Regions from separate parts of the Homo sapiens genome. Here region 2 is linked to region 1. The links are contacts of gene promoters, found by promoter capture Hi-C in human tissues and cell types (Jung and others, 2019). All regions are on one chromosome and are shown on one strand. Each heading gives the region's core, a stretch centred on a gene start or on the middle of the fragment in contact. The rest is flanking DNA. Distances are from core to core; before and after follow the strand shown. Region 1 holds the start of COMMD10 (COMM domain containing 10). Region 2 overlaps TRIM36 (tripartite motif containing 36).

Evidence for each region. The method cuts DNA at HindIII sites, captures the fragments that hold promoters and counts their contacts. A contact is called where the count stands out against the background at its distance.
Region 2: a fragment that was not itself captured here is called in contact with the fragment with the promoter of COMMD10 in region 1 in 1 of the 25 tissues and cell types used here (spleen).

Annotation. Positions count from the first base shown.
Region 1 is chr5:116,083,695-116,087,713 of GRCh38, reverse strand. It overlaps COMMD10 (COMM domain containing 10), which reads right to left and starts at 2,689. Exons shown (of 7, transcript NM_016144.4): 1 at 2,621-2,689; 2 at 127-217. The coding sequence starts at 2,661. RefSeq lists enhancers at 2,148-2,442, 2,736-2,895. The HindIII fragment of the contact is 16,445 bases long and covers 1-4,019 here.
Region 2 is chr5:115,161,335-115,165,239 of GRCh38, reverse strand. It overlaps TRIM36 (tripartite motif containing 36), which reads left to right. Exons shown (of 10, transcript NM_001300759.2): 2 at 1,488-1,722. Among named protein-coding and RNA genes, the nearest start is that of TRIM36, 6.6 kb to the left of the region's middle. The HindIII fragment of the contact is 5,784 bases long and covers 1-3,905 here.

The DNA of each region.
Region 1 (4,019 bases), core at 1,440-3,939:
CACAGAACCAGTGTCTCTAAGAACATATTGGAGAACACTATGCTTTGCAAAAAGTTCTCCAAATAATCAGACTTTCAATTAAATCAGAAGGAAGATTACAAGGCATGGAAACACACAAATACAAACCTTCAGGTGAAGTTTTTGAAGAATCCGAGTGAGCAACCGTGGAAATCTTCCTGTATCTATTGCATTTATCAGTGACACTGCTTTCTTCATGCTAAACAAAATTATAAAACAGAGTTTTGAAATGAGTTTTCCAAGTTGAACTGCACTTTCTATAGTTGTCTATAAGTTTTCATTCCAACAACTCTGAATGCTATATGGTAAATCTGAGTGAAATAAAAACAGATGACAGCCAGCAAAAAAGGCAGGGCAACGGGTACATTTCCAAAAAGATGCCCCCAAAATTACTTCTGCTGAAAAGGTCCATTTGGCAAATTTTCTCTTTCTTTTGGGCAAACCAAACTACTAGGGAAACCTTGTACTGCGCAGGGAAGAGCCTTAATTTAGTAGAGCGTTTATATAAACACTTAACCCAAAAATGGAACTCTGAAAGGGGTGGGAGGAGAGGAATAGCAATTATGGCAATTACACCAAAAACATAAAAGAATACTGCAAGGCAAATAACTTTTCAAATACTATGTACAAAATCATCTGGGGTCACTAAGCACACAGTTATTTTAAAACCCTGTTTCAACTGTAAAATCAAATTTATTATTACAACAGTAATCAATTTTGAGATAGGGTCTTACTCTGTCACCCAGGCTGGAGTGCAGTGGCACGATCTCAGCTCACTACAGCCTCTGCCTCCTGGGTTCTAAGAATCCTTGTGCCTCAGCCTCCCAAGTAGCTAGAACTACATGCGCGGGCCACAGCGCTGGCTAATTTTTGTATTTTTTGTAGAGACAGAGTTTTGCCCTGTTGCCCAGGCTGGTCTTGAACTCCTGAGCTCAATCAGTCCTGCAGTGGCTCACCCCTATAATCCCAGCACTTTGCAAGGCCAGGGAGGACAGATCACCCGAAGCCAGGAGTTCCAGACCAGCCTAGCCAACATGGTGAAACCCCATCTTTACTAAAAATACAAAAAATTAGCTGGGCGTGGTGGCGGGTGCCTGTAATCCCAGCTACTCAGGAGGCTCAGGGAGGAGAATCGCTTGAACACAGGAGGCGGAGGCTGCAGTGAGCCGAGATGGCGCCATTGCACTCCAGCCTGCGCAACAAGAGGGAAACGCCCTCTCAGGGAAAAAAAAGAGAGAGAGATTAGCCCGCCTCAGCCTCCCAAAGTGCTGGAATTACAGGCATGAGCCACAGCACCTTTCCTGTAATAATCAACTTTAAATGATGTGATGAGAACAATTCTATACTGCACCATATTGGATACAGTTTACTGATGTAGCGGTGTTCCCCAAGACACTGGTATGAGGAAAGAAACTGGCGATCAGAACCAAAGTGAGGCAGGAAAATAGGGTCAGGAGGCTGGGAACATAAAGCTGATTCCCACTTCAGCTATGACAAGAAATGTCCTCTCCATATGGCATAGGCGGAGAAAATGACTTTGTAACTTTACTTCATCCTCTTCATTTACATAGGGAGTACACCAAGTAACCAATGGAATCCTCTAGAGGGTATTTAAATTCCCAAAAATTCTGTAGGGGCCCTTCAGCCCCTATGCTCAAGCAGCTCCCACACTGTGGAGGGTAGTTTCATTTTCAATAAATGTCTTCTTCATTCTTTCCTCGCTTTCTTTGTGCGTCTTCTCCAGTTCTTTGTTCAAGACGCCAAGAACCTGGACACCCTCCACTGGTAACAAAAGGAATCCAGAAAGAAGGAAAAACTTTAAAATAACTCTTTTCTTCTGAAAGATTTCTACCCAATCCAAGCACAAAGAAATTACTTCCGAACACTATTTTGCCTATATACTTCAGTACTTTTTCTGTATCCACACGCTACCTGCACTATTGCTTATTTTTTCACAAATTGAGTCTTTTTTTACTTAAATAATGTTAAAGGGGAGCTTTATATCACTACCATGGACAACCAACTTTATCTACCATAAGTAGAAATTAACTAAAAATCTGTTTAAAATGCAAATAAAAGCAAATGCTACCAAAGCCAGGCTAGATTCTTCTACCAACCAAAAATTCGGTCCCCTATTCGATACTGATTTAAAAGGGGTATTAACACATGTTGGCTATTAAAGACCCTCCAGCAGCAGCGTGAGCCTTTCCCACCAGAGTGTCTGAACCGGAACTGAAATCGGAAACGGAATACCGTTCCACGTGATTCGGCAGCACTGAAGGCAGCACCCGGGAACTTCTGATACCAAACTCCGCGAACAGTGACGCAGACCCCACGCTTGCAGACCACACGCTTCCGTACAGACCTCAGCTGCCAGGCGCACTGTGAGCCCCACAGGTGGACCACCGTGACTGTAGAGGCGCTACACGGCCCCACGCACTCCGCAGACGCAGCGTCGCAACCTCGGCAGCCCACCCCACCCCACCCCACTCAACCGGGCCCGCCGCGGCGCCCAGGCGGCAGGCAGCAAGGACAGCCTTGTGCGAGCCCGATCTGGGCCTTCCTGGGCGCGGCTACCGCAAGAGCTTAACGGATCAGCTACCTGGGGCTCTCCCGTAGGATCAGCGCCGCGGGGACCGCCATCTTCGGCTTTCTCGCACTGCCGCCGTCTGTTAGCTGCGCCGAACCCAGCCAATGGCGGCCGCGGCGGACGGAAAGCCGGAAGGCCCAAGCCGCGCAGGGGCCGTTTTAGGGCTCCGGGTCTCCTGCGACCCGGGCGCCGGGAGACTTGTCCCGCAGTCCTGGAGGGCGGAGAGGGCAGCCCAGTTGCCCTCCCGACACTCCAATCGTGTTGGAGTTAAGTCTGTGCATATATATGTCTTTATATTTATATATTATATATGTATGTACATACCTGGATAGGGGTGTGTGTCTGTATTTAATAGGGCAGGTTTAAGCAAGTCTATGTACAGACCTGTATAGATATATGTGTGTATGTTCGTGCATAAATATATACATTATTATTTTTAATAGGGCAGGTTTAAGCAAGCCCGTGTATACATACTTGGATAAATGGTGTGTGCGTGTGTATATTTTTTTAATAGGGCGGGTTTAAGTGAGCCTGTGTGTACATACTTGGATAGGTGATTTGTGAGTATTTTTTTTTCCAGCGTTTGGGCTACAGAGAGGCAGGCATTTGAGCGAGCTCCCCCGAGCCTGCCCAGGAAGCGGCGCATCACCCCTCAGGAGAGGTGGTGCCTCCAGTTCCACCCTAAGCACTGTGCCGTCAACCCCTCCTGTATCTGCATCTGCAGGGCTTGTAGTATGTACGTTCAATTCCTTCAGCAACGTTCAATGAATGAGTGCCTACTGTGTACCAAGCACTGTTCTAGGCACTGGAGATACAAAAGGCCAAAATTCCTGCCCTCAGGGTTTGCCGGCAGTCTAAATGGACAAGTATTTGTTGCACCCTTCTTTAGAGTCTGACAGTGCAGAGTAGGGGAGATGAATCGCTGCAGTGAGTGATGTCAAAGACCTCACCCAAGACTAGGGAGACACCATGTTTGCATAAATACCTTGGTCTGCCTTTGAGAAAAACATGGAGTGAGTTAAAGGAATTCAGATGTGGGAGCAGTGAAAGGCATCCGAGGTAAGATCAGGAAAAGCTCCCTAGGGCAGGTGGCAAATGCGGTGGGTCTGCAGAGATGTGGAGGGTGAGGCTGTGTGTTTCAGGTCAGTAGAGTAGAAGGGCGGTTTGACGTTTGAAGAACAGGAATTTAGACTAGAAAAAGCCTTTAATGACTGGTTGTGGCATGTGCACTTAATCTGGTGAGAAATGGGTAAGCATTAAATGTTTTTTCTATCCATTAAATGTTTTGAACCAAAGAAATTTTGCAGTGGGAGTTGGATTTTTGAAGGTTGCTGTCAGCAGAATGATGATTGAAATGGAAAGAGGTAAGCAGGAGAGCTACCTGGAAACTACTGCAATAATCTATAGAAAG
Region 2 (3,905 bases), core at 1,396-3,895, 920 kb after region 1:
GAGGACCATGGTCCTCCAGACCCCAGAATGGTAGATCCACCAACAGCTTTCATCATGCGCCTGGGAAACCTGCAGATACTCAATGCCAGCCATGAAAGCAGGTGGTGTGTGGGCTGTACCCTGCAAAGCCACAGGGGTGGAACTGCCCAAGGCCATGGCAGTCCACCCTTTGGATCAGCGTACCCTGAATGAGAGACATTGAGTCAAAGGAGATCTCACTTGTGAGCTTTATGACTTAATAACTGTCCTTTTGGGTTTCAGACTTTCATGGGACCTGTAGCCCCTTTGTTTTGGCCAATTTTTCCCATTTGGAATGGGAGCATTTGTCCAATGCCTGTACACCCATTGTATCCTGGAAGTAACTAACTTGCTTTTGATTCTCCAGGCCCCTAGGCAGAAGGGACTTGCTTTGTCTCAGATGAGACTTTGGACTTGGACTTTTGAGCTAATGCTGAAATGAGTTAAGACTTTGGGGGACTGTTTGGAAGCATGATTGGTTTTGAAATGTGAGGACATGAGATTTGGGAGGGGCCAGGGCCACAATGATATGGTTAGGTTCAAATCTTATCTTGAATTGTAATCCCAAGGTGTTGAGGGAGAGACCTGGTGGGAGGCCATTGAATCACAGGGGTAGATTTTCCCCATGCTGTTCTTGTGATAGCGAATTCTCATAAGATCTGATGGTTTTGTAAGGCAGTATCCCTGCTCTTGCTCTCTCTCACCTGCCACCACGTAACACAGATCTGCTTCCCCTTCTGCCATGATTGTAAGTTTCTTGAGGACTCCCTAGCCATGTGGAACTGTGAGTCACTTAAATCTCTTTTCTTTATAAATTACCCAGCCTCAGGTAATTTTCTTTATAGCAGTGTGAAAATGGACTAATACATACTCATAAAGTGCTTTTAAGATAATTGCTTTGATATACAGCATGAGAACCTCAGGCATTAATGAAGAATGGTCGCATTTAATGTAGAAAATTGCTGATAATTCAGCTTGTAAATAGATACCAACTAGGTTTCCATGAACATACTGACTCAGCTAGTGTTTAATAGCTCCTGTTATTTGTCAGTCACAGTGTTAATTCACTAAATAAGAATATAGTCTTACTCTTAGTGCTGTATTCAAAATTTTTATTGACATGATCTACTTTTAGGATTTCACCGAAGTCCTAAATCAGTGCACTGGTGATGGAGATTCGAATGATGGCTTTATAATTTTTGATAAAATATCATGGTCCCCTAATATTTTACATAATTTTTCTCTTCATTTTTGCCTTTTACTATCTCATGTTCCTTCAGTTCTGGGTTATGGGTGTTGAGGGCAGTTGATGGTATCAAATTTTATTGGGGAAAAGAAATTTAAAATTTAGAAAATCATTTTCTTAATTCTTTTTGGAAAAATAAACACATGTACTTATTCAGGAGGTATAAGAATGTTAATATATTTACCCACTAAGAGCCTTTAACTTGGACTATTTTACTCTCAAGGTTACCATTAAGAATATCGAAAGGGAGCTCATTTGCCCAGCATGCAAGGAGCTGTTTACCCACCCATTGATTCTCCCTTGCCAACATAGTATCTGTCATAAATGTGTAAAAGAACTCCTGCTGACTCTCGATGATTCATTCAACGATGTGGGATCAGACAACTCCAATCAAAGCAGTCCTCGACTTCGGCTCCCCTCCCCTAGTATGGATAAAATTGACCGAATTAACAGACCAGGTATGTGTTAGAACTGTGGGCTGGGATGGTAGTGGGGGTAAGCTTATAGATATATATTCAGTGGTAACTGGAAGGAAAATTATTTTTGTCATCTTGAGAGTTAATTTTTCCAGGTGAATAAATTAAAACTGTAGTTATAAAGGGGCCTCCCCCACTGTTAAAATGTCAAAATGAACTCTCGTCTTTTGATACATACTTGAAGTAGATATTGGATATTGAACATGAACTTTGTGTTAAACTCCTTATTAACTGTGTTTGTAAGTCTGGGCACAGTGGCTCACACCTGTAATCCCAGCACTTTGGGAGGCCATGTCGGGTGGATCACCTGAGGTCATGAGTTCAAGACCAGCCTGACCAACATGGAGAAACTCCATCTCTACTAAAAATACAAAATGAGCTAGGTGTGGTGACGCGTGCCTGTAACCCCAGCTACCTGGGAGTCTGAGTCAGGAGAATTGCTTGAACCTGGGAGGCGGAGGTTGCAGTGAGCCGAGATCGCGCCATTGCACTCCAGCCTGGGCAACAAGAGTGAAACTCTGTCTCAAAAAAAAAAAAAAAGCTATGTTTGTCTTTAGGAATTATTCTGACTGTGCAATGTACTTGATACATAGAATAATGGACTACTGAAATACTAACTAGGAAAACATTCATATATGGTAATAGGAAAATAAATACTGCAGAGTTAAGGAGTGGGACTACCTAATGGCTAGTCATCACCTTTATGTTTCCTCCCTTGCTGCCAATCTGGCGCACTGAGGAGGGAAAGACAGCATCCCTTGAAATCAGTCCTACTAGATAAAACTTGATATTCTGCTGGTAGATCTTCATTGGCTAATTGGGAACCCATGCTTGATTGACCAAAGAAAACTTTTTGTATGTTAATATTTAGCAAAAACAAATAAAATTTTAGTTATGTACTAGATATTTCTACTTATAATTAGATTGCACTTATATACATATTTCACAAAATTCTGTAGGCTTTTAATGTTAAGATTTGGCTAGTTTTTTATGTGATTCATATGAAGAACAAGATGAATGATTTTCTGTTTTCAGGAATTTACCTGACATGGTACTCTGTAGATGCTTAATAAATATTTGTTGAATGGATGTTGAATGAGAAACCTCTGCCACAGGATTTGTACAGAGAGTGCCACAATGGCTTATATTCAGTAATAATGGCATTTGTCTTTTGGAATATGAGCTCCATTACACCATACATTTCACTGTCTAGATCCGAAATAGCATTACTGGGATGTTTCTCCCTCTTCTTTAGGAAGAACCCTACGAAGTTAGATTATGTCCTGAGAGGGGAAACTTAGAATGGTGGAGTTTGAAAACTTTTCTCTGTAAAGAACAGTTACAGGAGATGAGAAGGGGTGACTGCAGAATATGATAGTTTTCTTATGGATAGAATGAGTATGCTGGATATCTCTAGCAGAGGTTCCAGGTCAATGAGTAGATGGAATAGGAAGGCAGATTTAACTTAGCATGAAAGAAGACACACGCGCACACACACCCCACTAAGGCTGTCCAGAAATGAAATGGGCTAAGTATATCAGACTTCTGCCACTAAATGTGTTTACATCAGGTGTCAAATTTAGATGCTGCAGGGCCAAACGGGTGCATTAATGAAGAGAGCCCCAGGCATAATAAATATAGGACTCTCCTTCATTTTAGTTTTTCGCTGTAAATATGGAGACAATAAATATTTGATTTTCCCTTTAGCTCAACTACTGTAAGAAAACCATCAGCCCAAAGTGACAGCAGCCAACTGATTTTACGACTCCTTATTGGAGAAGTAGAGTGTGGTTTGGGACTGTGGAGACTGAAACGGATGCCTTGTTAAAGGGGGCAGTAACCACTTGGCAGTGTCAGGGTTGAAGATGCCAGATTGTCAGATTTATTGGTTTTTCACAAAAACTTGATAGTGGTTTCCATGTGAAATCTGTTTTTTAAATATTTTCAATTCAGATTATTTAACAATACCACACCAGCTCAATAGGGCAGGACAGCCAAAACATGTCTTTGGCTGTGACCCATGCAGCATTTGGGCCATCAGTATCTGAAGACTTTGTTTAAAACAATGGGTGGGTGGCCACTGTCTGCAATATTGTGGAGGGTGTTTCTGCTGTGGGTGGTAGGTTGGGCCAGTTGTTCTGTCACATGCCATATCTCCAGCACTG